Linked DNA regions of Homo sapiens: regions 1, 2 and 3 are each linked to region 4. Evidence: promoter capture Hi-C in 16 types of primary human blood cells and fetal thymus (Javierre and others, 2016). All regions are on one chromosome and are shown on one strand. The core of a region is centred on a gene start or on the middle of the fragment in contact, and the rest is flanking DNA. Distances in the headings are between cores, read along the strand shown.

Evidence for each region. Contacts are between HindIII fragments. The CHiCAGO score rates a contact against its expected background, and 5 or more counts as called.
Region 1: a contact is called between a fragment that was not itself captured here and the fragment with the promoter of GIT2 in region 4, in 3 of 17 cell types (neutrophils, naive CD8 T cells and naive CD4 T cells). The highest score is 9.0, in neutrophils.
Region 2: a contact is called between a fragment that was not itself captured here and the fragment with the promoter of GIT2 in region 4, in 1 of 17 cell types (fetal thymus). The highest score is 6.6, in fetal thymus.
Region 3: a contact is called between a fragment that was not itself captured here and the fragment with the promoter of GIT2 in region 4, in 2 of 17 cell types (fetal thymus and total CD8 T cells). The highest score is 7.0, in fetal thymus.

Annotation. Positions count from the first base shown.
Region 1 is chr12:109,477,655-109,482,409 of GRCh38, reverse strand. It overlaps UBE3B (ubiquitin protein ligase E3B), which reads right to left. Exons shown (of 28, transcript NM_130466.4): 1 at 4,301-4,755; 2 at 668-773. Among named protein-coding and RNA genes, the nearest start is that of UBE3B, 2.4 kb to the right of the region's middle. The HindIII fragment of the contact is 2,401 bases long and covers 763-3,163 here.
Region 2 is chr12:110,599,368-110,603,713 of GRCh38, reverse strand. No RefSeq gene overlaps it. Among named protein-coding and RNA genes, the nearest start is that of TCTN1, 13 kb to the left of the region's middle. The HindIII fragment of the contact is 416 bases long and covers 1,142-1,557 here.
Region 3 is chr12:110,738,195-110,742,850 of GRCh38, reverse strand. PPP1CC (protein phosphatase 1 catalytic subunit gamma) reads left to right here. Exons shown (of 7, transcript NM_002710.4): 1 at 1-198. The coding sequence starts at 144. Among named protein-coding and RNA genes, the nearest start is that of PPP1CC, 2.4 kb to the left of the region's middle. RefSeq lists a silencer at 30-89 and an enhancer at 1-235. The HindIII fragment of the contact is 1,457 bases long and covers 1,229-2,685 here.
Region 4 is chr12:109,993,150-109,997,744 of GRCh38, reverse strand. GIT2 (GIT ArfGAP 2) reads left to right here and starts at 1,377. Exons shown (of 20, transcript NM_057169.5): 1 at 1,377-1,572. The coding sequence starts at 1,521. RefSeq lists enhancers at 1,207-1,366, 2,057-2,106 and a silencer at 1,637-1,726. The HindIII fragment of the contact is 1,710 bases long and covers 1,002-2,711 here.

The DNA of each region.
Region 1 (4,755 bases), core at 714-3,213, 520 kb after region 4:
GAAGTGGGAGCAAAACAATGGGCCCACATGGACAAACAGAGTGGAATAAGATAATGGAGACTCCAAAAGGTGGGAGATGGGACAGGGGTAAGGATTGAACAATTATTTATTGGTACAATGTTCACCATTCGGGTGATGGGTGCCCTAAAAGCCCAGACTCCACCATTACACAATATATGCATATAAGAAACCTGTACCCCCTACATCCATACAAAGAAATTTAAAAATTATTAAAATAAACATTGGACTTAATAGTATTATCTCCTAGAGGTATTAAATTAATTACGTGTTATTGAAAGGCATTTAATAAGTGTGCTCTATTATTAGTATTAATAAGGACAATAAAATAATACCCTTTTATAACCAAAAAAAAGTTGGTGCAAGCCTCCCACCACATGAACATATCAAGGGACCTCTGTGACCCCTTCTCAACAGTGATCTGTCAAACATCATCAGTAATCCTTGAAACAAACTAACAGAGCCCACTTGACCACAGGAGGGAAGGTATTAGGTTGGTACAAAAGTAATTGTGGGTTTCAACTTTTTTAAAAAAACACTAAGTCGTAATTACTTTTGCACCAACTTATAAAAGGCTTGGAGAGAAACGGTAGCCATCTTCTGAATCATTTACGCTTCCTGCCCCAGCAGTAAAGTCTGGAGATCTCACCTGAGGACCTGCCTGTGTCGCAGAAATGCCAGGTAATCATTAGTGATCTTGCACAGGACTCGTGGCTGAGAACAGCTTCTCACTTCAGAAAAGCTTGTTATTTTTTCTGGCAGAAGCAGAAGAAAAAAATCCAGACTTAGGGTTAAATTTTATAGGTGTGGTATCATACATCTTCCTCACTGAGTAAAAGTAGTAACTACAATGCCAATGGTTTTTTAAAAACACCACTGGGTCCTCTTTATTTAATGTCTCATCTAAATGTTATACTGTATCTCTTCAATCCTCACAGTTTAAAGGGAATATGTTGAAAATAAATCCCAAAGTTGTTGTTGAATTACAGCTGTGATGGGAAGCAAAATAACTTAGAGGTCATGGAATGTTAAAGAGCTACTGAAAATTATATTTGACATTTTCCTTTTTTTTTTTTTTGAGATAGTCTCACTCTGTCGCTGAGGTTGGAGTGCAGCGGCATAATTTCAGCTCACTATAACTTCTGCTCCCAGGTTCAAGCGATTCTCCTGCTTCAGCCTCCCAAGTAGCTGGGATTACAGGTGTGTGCCACCATACCCTATCTCAGTTGGGGTTACAGGTGTGAGCCACTGTGCCCGGCCATGTTTGACATTTTTTTTTTTTTTTTTGAGACGGAGTCTTGCTCTGTCGCCCAGGCTGGAGTGCAGTGGCGCGATATTGGCTCACTGCAAGCTCCGCCTCCCGGGTTCATGCCATTCTCCTGCCTCAGCGTGTTTGACATTTTTAATGATAATGGAAAAACGTTTATGCCTTAGAAGTGAATAAAGGGCTGCCTGTGGACCAATAAGACCCCAATTACCTAAAGAAAAATGTACACACACACAGATACAAAACTAGCATGAACTATACCAACATGTTACCAGTGGCTGTTTTGAGGTACTGAAATTGCGGGAAATTTTTCTTAATTGGTCTGTATTTTCTAAATTTTCCACAGCATGCACATGGTGAAGCAGCACTGCACAGTGAGGGGCACACGGGCTTTGGGAGTCACACAGAGTTGGAGCCAGTCCCTAGCTCTGCCACATACTATAGGGAGAATGTCTAAGTCTTTTTTTTTTTTTTAAGGCAGGGTCTCGCTCTGTCATCCAAGCTGGAGTGCAGTGGTGCAATCATGGTTCATTGCAGCTTCTACCTCCCAGGCTCAAGCGATTCTCCCACCTCAGCTTCTCAAGTAGCTGGGACCACAGGTACATACCACCACATCTGGCTAGTTTTTAAATTTTTTGTAGAGGTGGGGTCTCGCTATATTGCCCAGGTTGGTGGTCTCAAACTCCTGGGCTCAAGAGATCCTCCTGCCTTGGCCTCCCAAAATGTTAGGATTACAGGTATGAGCCACCACACTGGGCCCTGAGTCTTTCCATCTTCATCTATTAATTGGCTTAGAGGTTGATAATGAGGACTAAATGTGATGATGCTTATCAGGTACCTATGGAGGTACTTGAGTGCACATTGTAGAGTGTATAGTCAGGAAGTCTAACTGGTGTATTATTTTTATAGACACAAGGATTAAAAAAAAAAAAAAACTCTTCAGCAGAGGCTCCCACCTGGACAGTTACTAAGGTTCTCTGGGTAGGAAATAATGCTGGCAGTCTGACATTTCTCACCCATTAACTTTTTTCCTATCTTAAATGCACTAAGATTCACCAGTCCTGTCCCTTGGGCTATGAACTCCTGGCCCTGTTGTTTAGAGTGAGTAACAGATTCAAGCTCCTCAGGACTGCAAAAGAGCAGGGCCCAAGCCACAAGCACAATGATATGCTCCCTCCATGACATGCAGACAGTGCCTCAATGGCAGAGGGTCCATGGAATTAGAAGGGGAAGAGGGAGCCTCTTCCCAAAAGAAAAACAAAGTTGCATGCAAACTGTACCTAAGCACTGTAAGACGATCTTAAAACTTTCACTTCTCCCAGGGGCCCTCCCAGAATAAGAAATTACTCTTATCCCCTTCCTTGAGATTATTATCCCTTCAGCAATGTTATTGGTTGATTTCTGTTCATATCATATAATAGCCTACACTTTACAGTTTTTCTCATCCTTTCCTATATACCTTCTCCACCTGCACAGTGTATACTATAGTTCGTCAATTAATAAAACACACAATCAAGTGTTTATTAAGTACTTATTTTGCTAAATGCCATGGAGAACCAAAGAAAAGGCTGTGCGCAGCAGAAAAAGTCTTGCATCAGAGAAAGCGGGCCTTGGTTCTTTTTAGTACTCCTTCTATCCGACATTTGGCCAAGTTACTTATCCTCTCTAGGCCTCAGTTTCCTTATGTGTAAATCGAGGGTAATAATAGTGTCTATGTCCTAGGGTTGCTGAAAGGATTAAATGCAACATTTATCCTTCTTGTACCTCAATTTAGTCATCACAACATTGTGATTAGGATTAAATGGGAAAATATTAATATAGGATATCTAAAAGCATGTAGCATGTAAGTGAGCTTTATTGTATTGTCCTTAAGAAGCTTGCAATCTAGTTAGGGAAACAAGAATCATATAGGTAGAAAGATTAGAAAATAAGAGGTTGGTGATAACCAAGATCATTTAAAAAAGTAAATGAGTGCCCATTATGTGTCAAGTCCTTTATAAGTGATCTCATCTAATAAGGAGAGGAGTCCTATGAGAAGATCATTCATGATCTCATCTACTCCAGTCTAGACCATTAGTATGTGGCAGAGTCAAGGCTGTAATAACTAAGAGGCAGGATTCAGACTCTTGTCTTACCTCTATATTTCCAAAGCTGAAGCATCATAAATACCAACTGCTGACTAAGCCAAGAGGATTGTCCCTGTGCAGTAGGAAAAGCTGGGCCACCAGGTTTAATGACCACCACCACTTGTTCTGGGCAGACGGTGTATCAGACACTGCACAGATTATTTAACCAACTTGTCTTTTCAACAGCTCTATCAGTTCTCGATAATCTTTGTTTTTTTGAGACGGAGTCTCACTTTGTTGCCCAGGCTGGAGTGCAGCGGCGCGAACTCTGCTCACTGCAACCTCCGCCTCCCAGGTTCAAGTGATTCTCCTGCTTCAGCCTCCCAAGTCGCTGGGATTAAAGGCGCCCGCCACCACGCCCGGCTAATTTTTGTATTTTTAGTAGAGATGCGGTTTCACCATGTTGGCCACGCTGGTCTTGAACTTCTGACCTCAGGTGATCCGCCCGCCTCGGCCTCCCAAAGTGCTAGGATTACAGGCGTGAGCCACCGTGGCCAGCCTCAATAATCTAATTTTTATTTAAAGAATAGGAAACACGACTTAAAGAGACTATTCATATTAACAGCTACTATTTATTGAAAGCTACAGCCTATCTAAGGTGGATGCTTTTGAATCTGAATCCATGTATATCCAAAACAGTTATTTATCACTAAGTAAAACAAACAAGATCCAGGGCTCCCCCGTTCACAGAATGGCCAAGCAAAGAGAAGTTGAGAGTGCAAGATTGCCTGTGGGGGCTAAGCTGGAGTTAAATTACGATCAAGTTTTTCTTTATTCAGAACTAGGTGTCAGGCACGGTACTAAAACGTATTCACACCCTCTGTGAAACCTGCTAATTACTCCATTTACACAGAAGGAAACTGAGGCTCAGAGAGGTGAGGGAACTCACCCAAGGTCACACAGCGAGCGAACAGTATTCGAACTCCAGTTTAGGTGAGTCCTGGGGCCCAGAGTCTTTCCTCGGCATCAACAACCACAGGAACAAATCACCCAGCATTAGTCCGTTTATAAAGGCCTACCGTCCCCAAAGTGAAAAGAGGTGGAAAGGGCCGCGGAAAGAGCCCCTGGAGCACACACGCCAGATCCCAGCACTTGTTCCTCCGACCTGGCCAGGCAGGGACTGTGCCCTAGAGCCAACTCCCTCAAAGTCCCCAGCCCCACCACTCGGAGGACTGACGACCCAGTTCTCCCGCAGGCCGGACCGCAGGCCCTACCGGCCTACCCGCAGGCCGACCTTTATTCGCCGGAGGTCCCCGCACTTGGGGTCGGGGCCGCAGCTGCCACTGTCTCAGCCCAAAACACCCGAGTTCTGCCAGACCCGGGGCAGCAGCCGACGCACTACCG
Region 2 (4,346 bases), core at 100-2,599, 610 kb before region 4:
CTCCAGCTTGGGCCACAAAGTGTGATTCTGTCTCAAAAAAAAAAAAAAAAAAAAAGGTCTACTGGGCCGGGCGTAGTGACTCACGCCTGTAATCCCAGCATTTTGGGACGCTAAGGCGAGCAGATCACTTGAGGTCAGGAGTTCCGGACCAGCCTGGCCAACATGGTGAAACCCTTTCTCTACTGAAAAATGTTTAAAAAATACAAAAATTACTGGGGCCTGGTGGCGGGCGCCTGTAGTCACAGCTACTTGGGAGGCTGAGGCACGAGAATCCCTTGAACCCGGGAGGCAGAGGTTGCAGTGAGCTGAGATTGCCTCTGCACTCCAGCCTGGGTGACAGAGTGAGACTCTGTCTTAAAAAAAAAAAAAAAAAGAAAGAAGGAAGGAAAGAAAAGAAAAGAGAAAACGAGCACACTTTCTGAAGCCACAGTGTTTGGGTTCAAATCCCTAGTTCTGCCACTTGCTAGCACTATAACTTTGGGCATGCTTTCTGTGTTCAGATTCTTCGTCTATAAAACAGGGAAATAGTGGTACTTAGGTACCAGTTTTGTGCATACAGCATGGTGTATACAGTATGCAGCATGGCTAACTAAGCCCTCAAAAAGCTTTAAAATGCAGCCTGGACAATATAGCAAGACTCTTTCTCCACAAAAAAACAAAAACAAATTAGCCAGATGTGTTGCCACACACCAGTCCTAGCTACTCGGGAGGCTGAAATGGGAGGATCGCTTGAGCCCTGGAGTTGGAAGCTGCAGTGAGCTATGATCATGCTACTGCACTTCAGCCTGGGTGACAGAGCAAAACCCTGTCTCCATTTAAAAGACAACAAAAGCTGTCCAGGCTTGGTGGCTCACGCCTGTAATCCCAGCACTTTGGGAGGCCGAGGCAGGCGGATCATGAAGTCAGGAGATCGAGACTATCCTGGCTAACACGGTGAAACCCTGTCTCTACTAAAAATACAATAAATTAGCCGGGCGTGGTGGTACACACCTGTAGTCCCAGCTACTCAGGAGGCTGAGGCAAGAGAATTGCTTGAACCCGGGAGGCGGAGGTTGCAGTGAGCCGAGATCACGCCACTTCACTCCAGCCTGGGTGACAGAGCAAGACTCCGTCTTAAAAAATAAATAAATAAATAAAAGCTTAAAAATGTTATTTGAGAAAGGGTGCAGGATTCAGGTTTCCTTAATTGGAAAAGACAAGATGATGTTAATTCTCCAGAAAGCGAAAGGAGAAAATATATGTTAATCTTGCCTCAAAATCGATTGTATGGTCCTCAGGATTTAGCAATTCTGAATAATGCCATTTCACCTATTCCCTGCAGATGGCAGCCTTTGTCACCAAAACTTGGTTCCTCTCACAGGGTTGACCCGGAGCAGAGGACAAAATGCTATTCTTTCATTGGCTCTAGTTCACTCAACAAATATTTACTGAGCACCTACTATGTGCCCGGACCCAGAAACAGCAGTGGTCAAGCAGGCACCAGCATTGCCCTCTCAGAACTTCCAACAGTTCTAGAGCTTCATTCTAAGGAGCTGAGGGGCCCTCCCAAGGAAAGCTTCCATGAGAATGGGCCTTCAGTTACAGAAGCCTTAACAGGAGTCAGAAACAGAATGCCTTCTCGAGCAAAAACGATGTTGCAAAGGACATTACTCACCACCAATTGCTTTCCAGGCCTACCTGCACTTAAAAAGAGCCTTTCATAAGTTCCACCCTCAGAGGAAAGAGCTGGGATATTTTATTTTATTATTTATTTATTTATTTTGAGATGGAGTCTCACTCTGTTGCCCTGGCTGCAGTGCAGTGGCCCAATATAGGCTCACTGCAACCTCTGCCTCCCAAGTTTAAATGATTCTCATGTCTCAACCTCCCGAGTAGCTGGGACTACAGGCGCCCACCACCATGCCTGGCTAATTTTTGCATTTTTATTAGAGACAGGGTTTTGCCATGTTGGCAGGCTGGTCTCGAACTCCTGAGCTCAGGTGATCCACCTGCCTCGGCCTCCCAAAGTGCTGGGATTACAGGTGTGAGCCACCGTGCCCAGCCAAGAGCTGGGATATTTTAAATTAAATAATTCAAACTTAAAGCTGCTGGAACTTTCTTCTGAGCCTTGAGAGGAATGTGGCCATGTAGTATGCAGTTGCAACTTCTGCTTGTCCTGTAAATGATTAGAAATGACCCAGTAGGCCGGGTGCGGTGGCTCACGCCTGTAATCCCAGCACTTTGGGAGGCCAAGACAGGCAAATCACTTGAGATCAGGAGCTGGGGACCAGCCTGGCCAATATGGCGAAACCCCGTTTCTACTAAAAATATAAAAATTGGGCGTGGTGGTGGGCACCTGTAATCCCAGCTACTTGGGAGGCTGAGGCAGAAGAATTGCTTGAACTCAGGAGGCAGAGGTTGCAGTGAGCTGAGATTGCACCACTGCACTCAAGCCTGGGCAATACACAGTGGCTCACGCCTGTAATCCCAGCATTTTGGGAGGCCGAGGCAGACAGATCACAAGGTCAGGAGTTCAAGACCAGCCTGACCAACATGGGGAAACCCTGTCTCTACCAAAAAAAAAAAATAGCCAGGCATGGTGGCACAGGCCTGTAATCCCAGCTACTCAGGAGGCTGAGGCAGGAGAATCACTTGCACCCAGGAGGCGGAGGTTGCAGTGAGCCAAGATCACGCCACTGCACTCCAGCCTGGATGACAGAGGGAAACTCCATCTCAAGAAAAAAAAAAAGAAAGAAATGACCCACTAGCACCAGAGATAAGACCCTCTCAGGACATTACTCCTCTTCATAGAATGTTAAAGCATCTTCCTTGAAATGTAGCAAGCTGTTTTAATCAAATGACTGTAACATACATATGGGCCTTGGATGGAAAATGTTGCAACTCAGCTGCAACTGTTTCTATCTATATAAGTGAAACCTTAGCTTCCTCTCTTTCCAACACTGATCCCATTCCTTTGGAGTATGTGTTTCGCAGGTGATCATCCTCAAACCTTGCACTTGAATAAACTCTGTACTTAATCATATTTTCTAAATCTCGTTATGCAAGTTTGACAGATACTAAGAGGCATTGTCGCCAATGTAGAAAGAGGGTGGCAGGGTTATGGGGTGAGTGAACGGGAAGATTTAGGAAATACAGACCACGGATAACAATTCAAAATGCCCCACCAATTTTTAAACCAAACATCTCCTTTTTAAGAAAAATTATCCAAATTTTGGAAATAAGACCAAGAGAGGGCAGTGTAGTTCTTTCAATGTCATCAAGGACTTTGTTTCACAAGCTCACCCAAAGATTACTTAATTCTCTAGCAGGGATCAGCAAACTCTTTCTGTAAAGGTCCAGGTAGTAAATATTTTAGGCTTTGTGGCTGGTTCCTATCTGTCAACTACTCAACTCTATCGGTCATCATGGTCCACCATTTCTGTACAGCAAAAGCATCCTGGGGAGATACAGAAATAATTGGGTATGGCTGTGTTCCAATAAAACTGTATTTTAGGCCGGGCATGGTGGCTCACACCTGTAATCCCAGCACTTTGGGCGGCCGAGGCGGGAGGATTGCTTGAGGCCAAGAGTTCAAGACCAACATAGTGTGACCCCATCTCTTATTTTTAAAAATAATAAAATTAAAATCTTATTACAAACACAAGCAGCCAGGCCAGATGTAGCCCACCAACTACTTATATAGGCCAGGGACTGTTCCTTTGTTTGCATAGGTATTGATTGATTAAAGGCCCAGATTTTTGTCCAGTACAGTTTTTGGTTGTTTTTTGTTTGTTTTTGTTTTTGAGATGGAGTCTCACTCTGTTGCCTAGGCTGGAGTGCAGTGGCATGATCTCAGCTCACTGCAACCTCCACCTCCTGGGTTCAAGCAATTCTTCTGCCTCAGCCTCCCGAGTAGCTGGGACTACAGGCATGCTCCACCAGCTAATTTTTTTTTTTTTTTTTTTTTAGTAGAGATGGGGTTTTACCGTCTCAGGCTCCTGACTTCAAGTGATCTGCCTGCCTCGGCCTCCCAAAATGCTGGGATTACAGGCATGAGCCACTGTTCCTGGCCTTGTCCAGTAGAGTTTTGAATTATTTCTCTCCAGTACAAAAGAGAATCCCATAGCTTATAGTTCTTATTACCCTGCAGAAGATTAACCAGTTTTGTATCTAAAATTCCCACTTCCTCAAGTACCTACTTCTTCAAAACATTCTCTGAACCAACTTCACCATCCGACTGTTTCCTCTTAGACAAGTAGAATACTTTTCTGACGTGTCAATTCTATATTTGTTTGTTTTGTTTTTTGTTTTGTGTGAGATGGGGTCTCATTCTGTCACCCAGGCTGGAGTACAATGGTGCAATCTTG
Region 3 (4,656 bases), core at 708-3,207, 740 kb before region 4:
GCGGGGTGGCAGGGGGGGGACCCGCCGCGGCTGCTGCCACCGCCGCCACCACCGCCTCTGCTCGTGGCGTGGGAAAGGAGGTGTGAGTCCCGGGCGCGAGCCGGCGGCGGCGCCGCTGCGGGAGGGTCGGCGGTGGGAAGGCGATGGCGGATTTAGATAAACTCAACATCGACAGCATTATCCAACGGCTGCTGGAAGGTAAGGGGGGCGGCGGGCGGCTGAAGGGGGAGGCGGGCCTGAGGGCGGCAGGCGGCCCCGGGGGCTCGAGGGAGGGGAGTTGGGAGGCCGGTTGGGCTTGCAGCACCGTGGGGAGTGAGCTCCTCGAGTTGGCCCACGGGCCGGGGACTGCAGCCGGAGGGAGGCCAGCCCGGGATTCCCAACTTGTCGCCAGCTGCGGACCCTCCAGGCTCCGCTCATTCATTGCACGAGGATGCAGGCTTCCTCCCGGCCGTGGAATTTGAAAACTCCGCTCCCCACCCCCACGTTTCCCGCCCCTACCCGTTTGCCCCCGCGCACTGGACGGGTCTTTGGAGCGATGGTTGGGGATCCCAGTCCAGCCTCCTGGACGACGTGTGCCGTGCTGTGCGAGATGGACTTTTCGGTGCTCGTCCTCTCGGAAGGCAGTTTGATGAGGGCATGAGTTCCGCCGGGTTTGGGGGCTCTTTTCCTGCTTGCTTTTATTTTTATTTTTCGTGGTTCTGGGGTCTTGGGGGGCCCATTTCTTGTTACTTGGTAACAAGCGTTCATGTCTCAAGAGGTGTGAGAACCTGTCTTCGCCTGCCCTCCAAATCCTTTTAAGTTGTTCTAATCTTGGAGAGGTCTCCGCGCTCTTTTCCTGAGCGTGCATCTGAAGAGGAAGCCAACGAGGCTGACGCTATCATTATCTTTCCAATGTGCCAGGCTCTGTCTTAAGCACTTTGCGTCCATGAATTATTACTGTAATCATAACTGACGCTTCTAAAGCGCTTACTGTGTGTCAGGCATTCTTTGAGCACTTAAGACAGATTTCATTTAATTCTCCCACCCATTGCAAGATATTTGCAATTTTTTTTGTTTTTGTTATTTTACAGAAGAAACTGAGATGAAGTCACTTAACCAAGGTCACACAGTTAGTGACAGTTGGATTTCAAATCCACATAGCCGGGAGCTAGAACCCTCTACAGACAACACTGTCACCTTATGTAGGAAGGAAGGTGGCCAGTGGTTAAGTAAAGGTTAATAGAAAGCTTTAAATTTCGGCTCATCTAAGACTTGTGAGGTGCCTGGCAATTGATTCATGTTGATGTGGGAGAGGGGCGAGGTTCAGCTTTTAAAGACGGAAGCTGAAATGAGCTGCTTTCAGATTCAAGGGCATGTCAACGGATGCTAACATCTTATCCAAGACTTTGTAAGAATTCAGTCATATCCCCTAACTTGGACACTTCATAATGGGAACTTGGCAGTTTCAACTGCTTTTTGCCTTTATACAGTCCTAAAATATTGTTGGACTATAAATGCTGTGAGTGGTGGAGTCGAGGGCATGAACAGTTGGACAGCTCTGGTGTTAGAATTTACAGATCTTTTAAAGTAAGTTATTAAAATGAAGCTCCTGAAAATATCTCGTCCTTTTCTTAATCTGTGCATTCTTTCCTTTTATGCTGTCTTTAAAAAAAAAACAACAAAAAAAACACTAAATGTCATTAAGGACCCCTGAAATGCTCTTGAAATGTTATTGCAGGTGAAAACCTTGTATTGTAGGTGAAAACCTTGTCATTCTTTTAATGCCAGGTATTTATATAAGAACCATACTTTTTCATACTAGTTAATATAGTTCTTTAATTTATTCGAGGCAGCAGTTGGTCAGAAACTGATTAAAATAGTTTGCTGTAAGAAAGGAACTTTTTGTTAAATATTTTCTTTCTAAATTTTAAAATTCTGCTTATCTCTGCAGGGATATGTGTGGCTTTATTTCTCTGAGGAAACAGGAAAAGTTGGAATTTGCATGGATTAGAAACATTAGAATTTTAAGATCATCTAAGGCTTGCTAATTTAAGTTCTGGTTTGCCCATAACTGCCTCTATTCATAAACAGCTTTTGTTAATTTTGATCTTTAAAATTGTAATAAGTACTTTGCCTGGTAAGTAATGATACATCTAAAATGAGATCATTGTTTCTTAATAGTTCCTCTTGTTATGTGGCACTTGAAAACCAGGTTTTCTTATATTTCATTTTTTGCTGAAATTAATAAAGCAGTGCATTTTAATGCCTTGGGAATAGGCTAACTGCAAAGTATACTTAAATTTCTTTTTTTCTCGTGGGTGTTAAATTGGCAGAGAAACAGTTGAAGATGATCCATTGAGGATATGTAGATATCTAAGTTAAATGATGTTGGTAATAAATTCTGTTTTACAATTTTTTATTTAAAAAAATTAAATTTAATAATTTAAAATAGAAATGAGAGTCTCACTGTGTTGCCCAGGCTGTTCTCAAACTCCTGGTTTCAAGCAGTCCTCGCACCTCGTCCTCCCCAGGTGCTGGGGTTATAGTCATGAGCCACCGTGCCCGGCCTAAATTTTATTCTTTTCATAATGCCCCCAAAACCTTTTTTTTCCCTAAATAAGATGTAAGTATATCTGAAAGTAGAGGGAATATGACTTGTGACTTTGGCCAGATTTTTTTACGTGTTTAGAATTGATCTTTTAAGCTTGCGAGCAGTATAACCTAGTTGAGAAGTAGCTGAGTAATAGTACTAAAAAGCTAACTGAAAAGTGAAGTCTTAAGAAAAACAGCATGTTGGTTTAGATCTTAGTCACTAACCTTTGCAGTTCTTTTCTTCTCTGAACTCTGAGTATTTCTGTAAGCGAGGCATCACCTCTGCAACCCACCATGGATGCTTTTATCCAAGCTCTGCCTTGCTGATGATAAAACTTAAGGTTGTTAACTCCTTAGTATAACTGATGTTAGTTATTTAAATAACTACACAGTAAAACGGCATTTTGAGAGAAAATAAGCCAGCTGTTGATTTGGTCTGATGTATTGAAGACAAGTGAGATTTGGGGCAGTTTTACTTTGTAAATGACCTCCTTCAAGGAGCCATGGTGGCTAGCATTTTTTTTGCATAGCAGGTGGTTGTAACTTACTTCACATCTTGGTTTGCAAGAAGCATCTTTGCTTTGAAGAAGGCCATTGTCAAAGTGCAAGACCATGTCAGGCTCTGCAGAATTGCCTGACTTGTTTTAGTGATTTAAATATGATCTCTGCCCTGGCTCACAGAAAGTGCTTACAGATTTAATCCTCTGATACATAAGGGTTGTTCTGAAGGTAGGGAGTGTTCAGATATTCTGAAACTCTAAGATTGTTTAAATAACCCATATGTTCATCTTTTTGATGCAGTATAAAACGTTCATATTCTGGTGTTTAGCCATCCCTGGTCCTAAAGATAATAAAGGACAAACATAATGGTTTAAAAAGGGGAAGGTTTCTTAATATGCTAACCAAAAAAAAAAACAAAAGTAATCTTTCCTAATGAACACCTGTAATTATTTATTTTTTTATTTTATTTTGGAGACAGAGTCTCACTCTGTCACCCAGGCTGGAGTGCAGTGGTGGGATCCTGGCTCACTGCAACCTCTGCCTCCCGGGTTCAAGCGATTTTGGTGTCTCAGCCCCCTGAGTAGCTGGGATTAACAGGCATGCACCACCACGCTCGGCCAAGTTTTTGTATTTTTAGTAGAGATGAGGCCAGGCTGGTTTTGAACTCGTGACCTCAAGTGGTCTGCCCGCCTCAGACTCCCAAAGTGCTGGGATTACAGGCATGAGCCACCGTGCCCAGCCTGTAATTATTTGTTTACAGAGCAGGTAATTTTTACACTCACATCCAAGTTGTCAGTTTCTAATTCCCTCATTGATAAGAACTCTGATGTGAGCCCTTGCCCTTCCTTTCCCATCAGTATGTTGGTCATATGCCCACTTCCTCTCCTCCTAGGCAAGGTGGGAAAGCTCTGTTGGAGACAGATGATCTGCAGCTTGCAGGAGTCCTTTTTTAAACCACAGCATTGAAAAAGGATTACTCTCCTTGTGCCCGCAGTGCCCTCTTGCCTGTCAGTAGCAGGAGGCAGCAGTGAAATCTGACAGAATTGTGTGTGACGTTGTGCTTGCGGGGGATGTGACACACAGGAGCGCTCTGCATTCTGAGCCTAGGGTGTTCCTCCTCATAACTGGGCAAATGGACATGCAGTTGTAGCCCAGCAGTGGTCAGCTGTAGAAATTAGTGAGGTGATTTGATGTCTTTGAAAGCACAGTCCTATTACAACCTGTAACCTGTTGTGCAGAATCACAGTACCAGTCAGCCCACTTGACTAGGTGAGGATTCCTGATGGTGAAGCAGGGAAATTATTGATGTTATGTGGACTTCACCATTTAACTTAATTTACAATTGAGGCCATTAGTTGACCTGAGAGATTAAAATATGAAGGAGATAATATTCTGGGTGTCAGTCGCTTTGTAGATAAAGAACTGGAAAGTCATTCAAGACCAAGAAGGAAGGATTTCATTTCCATGGAGCTTATGGAATTCCAGGATAGAGTTTGATATTTTAAGATCATACCTCTGTATCCAAAGCATCAAGAACAGATGATGTGTTTGTGGATCTTGGTGATTTGTCTGAAATCTCCAGCT
Region 4 (4,595 bases), core at 128-2,627:
ATAATTATGGGAGCTACTATTTACTGAGGGGTTACTATCCAGCAGGTGTATCACATTTTTCCCATAATTTATTCCATCTGTCCTTAGCCAAAATGAATGTTTAACTTTGCTGGTCACATACAAGTTTTGTCGCATATTCTTCTTCCTCTTTTTCTTTATTTCCCTCTCTCTCTTCTTCATTTTCATCTCGCAACCCTTTAAAAATGTAAAAATCATTCTTAAGTAGCAAGCCATACAAAAACAAATCGTGGACTAGAAGTAAACAATGCATTATCTTAATTTTGAACATGAGATTAAAACTGAAGCCTAAGGAATCATCTAATATATTCTTTTTTGTTATTTTTGTTGTTGTTGTTGAAGTTGTTTTTGAGACAGTCTCGCTCTGTCCCCCAGGCTGGAGTGCAGTGACGCGATCTCTGCTCACTGCAACGTCCACCTCCCAGGCTCAAGCGATTCTCATGCCTCAGCCTCCTGAGTATCTAGGATTACAGGCATGCGCCACCACGCCCGGCTAATTTTTTTTTTTTTTTTTTTTTTTTTGAGACGGAGTCTCACTCTGTCGCCCATGCTGGAGTGCAATGGCGTGATCTCAGCTCACTGCAACCTCCACCCCCTGGGTTCAAGCTCCTGCCTCAGCCTCCCAAGTAACTGAGATTACAGGCTCCTGCCACTGTGCCCGGCTAATTTTTGTATTTTTAGTAGAGACGGGGTTTCACCATGTTGGCCAGGCTGGTCTTGAACTCCTGACCTCGTGATCCACCCGCCTCGGCCTCCCAAAGTGCTGGGATTACAGGCGTGAGCCACCGCGCCCGGCCAATTTTTGTATTTTTAGTAGAGATGGGGTTTCACCATGTTGCCCAGGCTGGTCTCGAACTCCTGCCTCAAGTGATCCTCCTGCCTCAGCCTTCCAAAGAGTTGAGATTACAAGAGTGAGCCACCACGCCCAGCCTGGAATCATATAATATATTCTTATTTTACTTTACCCCAGTAAAATGCAAGCTTCATAAGGACTAGAAATTCAGTCTTTGCTCACTGCTGTTTCTCCAGTGGCTGGGACAGTATATAAAGCATGGTAAGTGCTTGATAAACATTTGTTGAATCAAGGAATGAATGAATGAACTTGACCATTGATTGCCTCAGGAAGGTTGTGGCTGCAGGGTTCTCATCACAAGATATTGCTACTTCCCCTGGTATTAATCAGTTGGGACGAGGGGAATCTCTGCCAGAGAAGAAGACCCAAATTCAATATTTAAAGGTAGGACAGATGATACTCGGGCAGTCTCCTGCCCTCACTCAAGATGGCGACAAGGCAGAGTGCCCTTTCCGGTCACATGACCTGACACTCGCCGAAGGGCACCTCCCCGCGCGTGCGTGCTGTGCCAAGGCTGCAAGGCGCTGAGGGGAGAGGCGCCGCCGTCAGCGCCGCCGCAGCTGGGACCCGTTAGAGCGGAAGCGCCGCCGCCACCGCCGCCTTTGCTGTCCCCCGGCCTCTAGTTCCCCGCAGGTGGGAGGTGGGAGCCATGTCGAAACGGCTCCGGAGCAGCGAGGTGTGCGCTGACTGCAGCGGGCCGGGTGAGTCGCACCGGCCGGGCCCGCTCCCCTCTGCTTTCCTGGCCCGGACCCCTACCCCGGGGCCGCCCCCTCAGGTCAGGCTGCATCCCGCGGCTAGGGTCGCAACGAAGAGGTCCCTGGGCGGCCTTGGGGTGGGAACCGTCCCGGGCCTGTCAGAGCCGGGCGGGCAGGGGGCCGCCGCCCTCCCCGTCCCTCGCGGCCCTCCCTTCCCTCTCGTTCCCTCCCGTTCCCTCCGTCCTAGGCCAACTGGGGAGGTGACGGGGGCCAGGGCTGCTCCCCCAACAGGAAGGGGCTTGGGCAATCCACAGGAAAGCCAATTACAGAAGTAAAATGTGAGCGTCCTCCCGGCTGCAGCCTCCAGAGGCTGCAGGTGTCACCTCCCACTAGACCCTTTCTCCGCCTGGGTGTCCTGCCCGGGGAGGATGACACTCCCTGAGACTCGCCAGAGGGTCCCCGTAGATGACTTCCCCGCTGCTGACATCCGACAGCTACTCTGCCCGGGAGAATTGCCAGGAGATCGGGGTCTTCCAAACACAACCAGCACTTAGGAGGCAGTGCTTGTCTCAAGTTTGAGGATCTGAACGGCCTGGGTTCAAACTAGATTTTGCTTCTGGCTGACCTTGGGCTGGTGACTTCACTTGGTCACTTGCTTGATTTCCTCATTTTTTTCAATGAGGATAATCGGGAGTATCACGCTTAGTGGTGAGGAAGATTCAATGAATACTCGTAGAATCATATCATCTAAGGCTTTTCTTTTTTGCATTATGCTGTCTACAGTAGAACTCTTGTAGTCCCTTAAAGCTATATTTGACTATCTAAATCATACGTTGATTACAACGGAAACAAACGCAAAATCACCAGCAATATAGGGGCATTGAAACGCTAAAGCCATTCCTTCATAATGATGCATAACTGTTCATACATAATATTCACATTTAGAGATCAAGTGTGTCTTAGCAATTGCAACTGAATTGTCAGGTCTCTGGATAGATTATTACATGCTGTTTTAGGTGCTTGGATGTATTGGCTTTGAGTTAATTCGAAGGTAACATGGCTTTCTTGGCACAATAGTGTCCGATAAACAATCTTAATTAAATCATTGAACACCACTGGCTTTGCAACTGTTCTGATCTTAAGCTTGTCATTTGGAAGTGGAGACCAATTGTAAATAGAACTGTGATAACTCAAACCTCATGTGGTTGTTTTATGGCCCGTACAGTGCAGGTGTTACCAGTTTCCTTTGAAGATAGGGAGGGGGTATGGAGGAGTTTAAAAAGAAGTGTTTTCTAAACCAAGTTAGTGTGAGTTATACAAACTCCATCATTTTCTCTAAAAATGTTATTTGTTCCACTTCCTTATTTTCTTGCCTATTTTCAGTTGAACTTACCGTGATGTATTTGATTCACATGTGTCTAGCTTCTAACTTCCTCTTGGAATGCATATTGTTTTGCTTCTTGATAGGGTACAGGGCAAAGCAAAATTGTTCCTCCATTGCCATCCTAAATATACTTTTGCAGCATTTTGTGCATTTCAGAACATTTTCTCTTCCATTGTATCGCTTTAGTTGTTGTCTCATACGCCTAATCTGCAGAGACTTGAGTCACTTCCTTCCTGTTTTGAATATAATTAGGCTACCTTGAAATATTCTGTGAAATTGAGCAGCTGGGAATTTGTGCTGCCTTTTCTGCACAGCCCTACTGAGAGAATTACCTGTAGGGTTAGGGACCCCTTTGAGATTCTGTTGAATGCTAAGGCCTTCTCCCCTAAAATGCACGTGAACGAATTTACCTAAGATTTGTCTGGGGGAGTCACAAACATTTTTGAAGTTCATTTGTGGTGTCCCTGGAGCCCTGGCTCCAGATGAACTTAAAGGGTTTTACCCAATCTCATTCATACAAACATTTTTATTTTACTATGTTAACATTCTAATATTCTTTCCATGGGATTCTGATCCAGGATGCTAAAGTGGTTAGTCGAATACTTGTCTTAATTAATATGTGTTAAATACTTGCTAAAAAAAGAATACTGCAAATCCTCTGAATAAGTGAAAACCAAAGCTATGCTTCAAAACAGTCTTTTTTTTTTTTTTTTTTTTTTGCCATTAGTGTCAGTACTATACTGCAGGAAGCAGTGTTGTTAATGCATCTTTGTAGAGCTCCTTCATCTGGACATTTCCAATCTCTGCTTTTTAGGATGATACAGTAATAGCGACAGAGTTATACTAAATTGAATTATTTTGATTCTGTTTTATTTTATGCAAACATTTAACCATGATCACATCTTCTTAAATATTCTACTTTTTTTTTTTTAATGAATCTGGTTCATTTCAAATACATCACACTCTGAGTTCAATTACTTGAAAACTCCATGGAGATTTTCAGTACAGTAGTAGAGTGGTCACATGAAATGTTCAATGTTTTAAGTATTTCCCATCAAAAACTTTGTCCAGTGATCATGAATTTCACGTCTAGAAAATATCTGAATACTGAGAAAATAATTTAGAAAAGATATAACAACTAACATTACTACTTTACTATGTGTGAGGTACTTCACTTATTCTCTATATCCTTACTATCCCGAGATTTGTCATTGTTCTCATTTGAACCATGGTGAAAACACTCAAGTAACTTGTCTGAGATCATTGTGCAAGAAGTGGCAGAGTTGGGGTTCAAACCCTGAACTCCTTGTCTCTAGAGCCAACCCTCTTAACCACCATACTCACTGGCTCCCAGGATTCGTCTTTGATTGAAAGCCCATAACTTTTCATTATATGGTTTGAAAGGGTTTGAATAAACTCTTAAAAAATGGTAAAGATGGTGTACATGCATTTTAGAGATTTTTGTGGACATTGAAGAATTTTTAAATGTAACCCTTTGACCAGGCAGCTTAAGTGGCACCTATTGTCACCCCATTGTGAGTCTGACGAAGTATAGCTCTTTCTTTATTTGAGGTTTCTAGGTATTCAGTTTACTTACCCAGATCCATCCTGCTTGCCAAGTATGAAATTATTCCTTGTTTCAAAG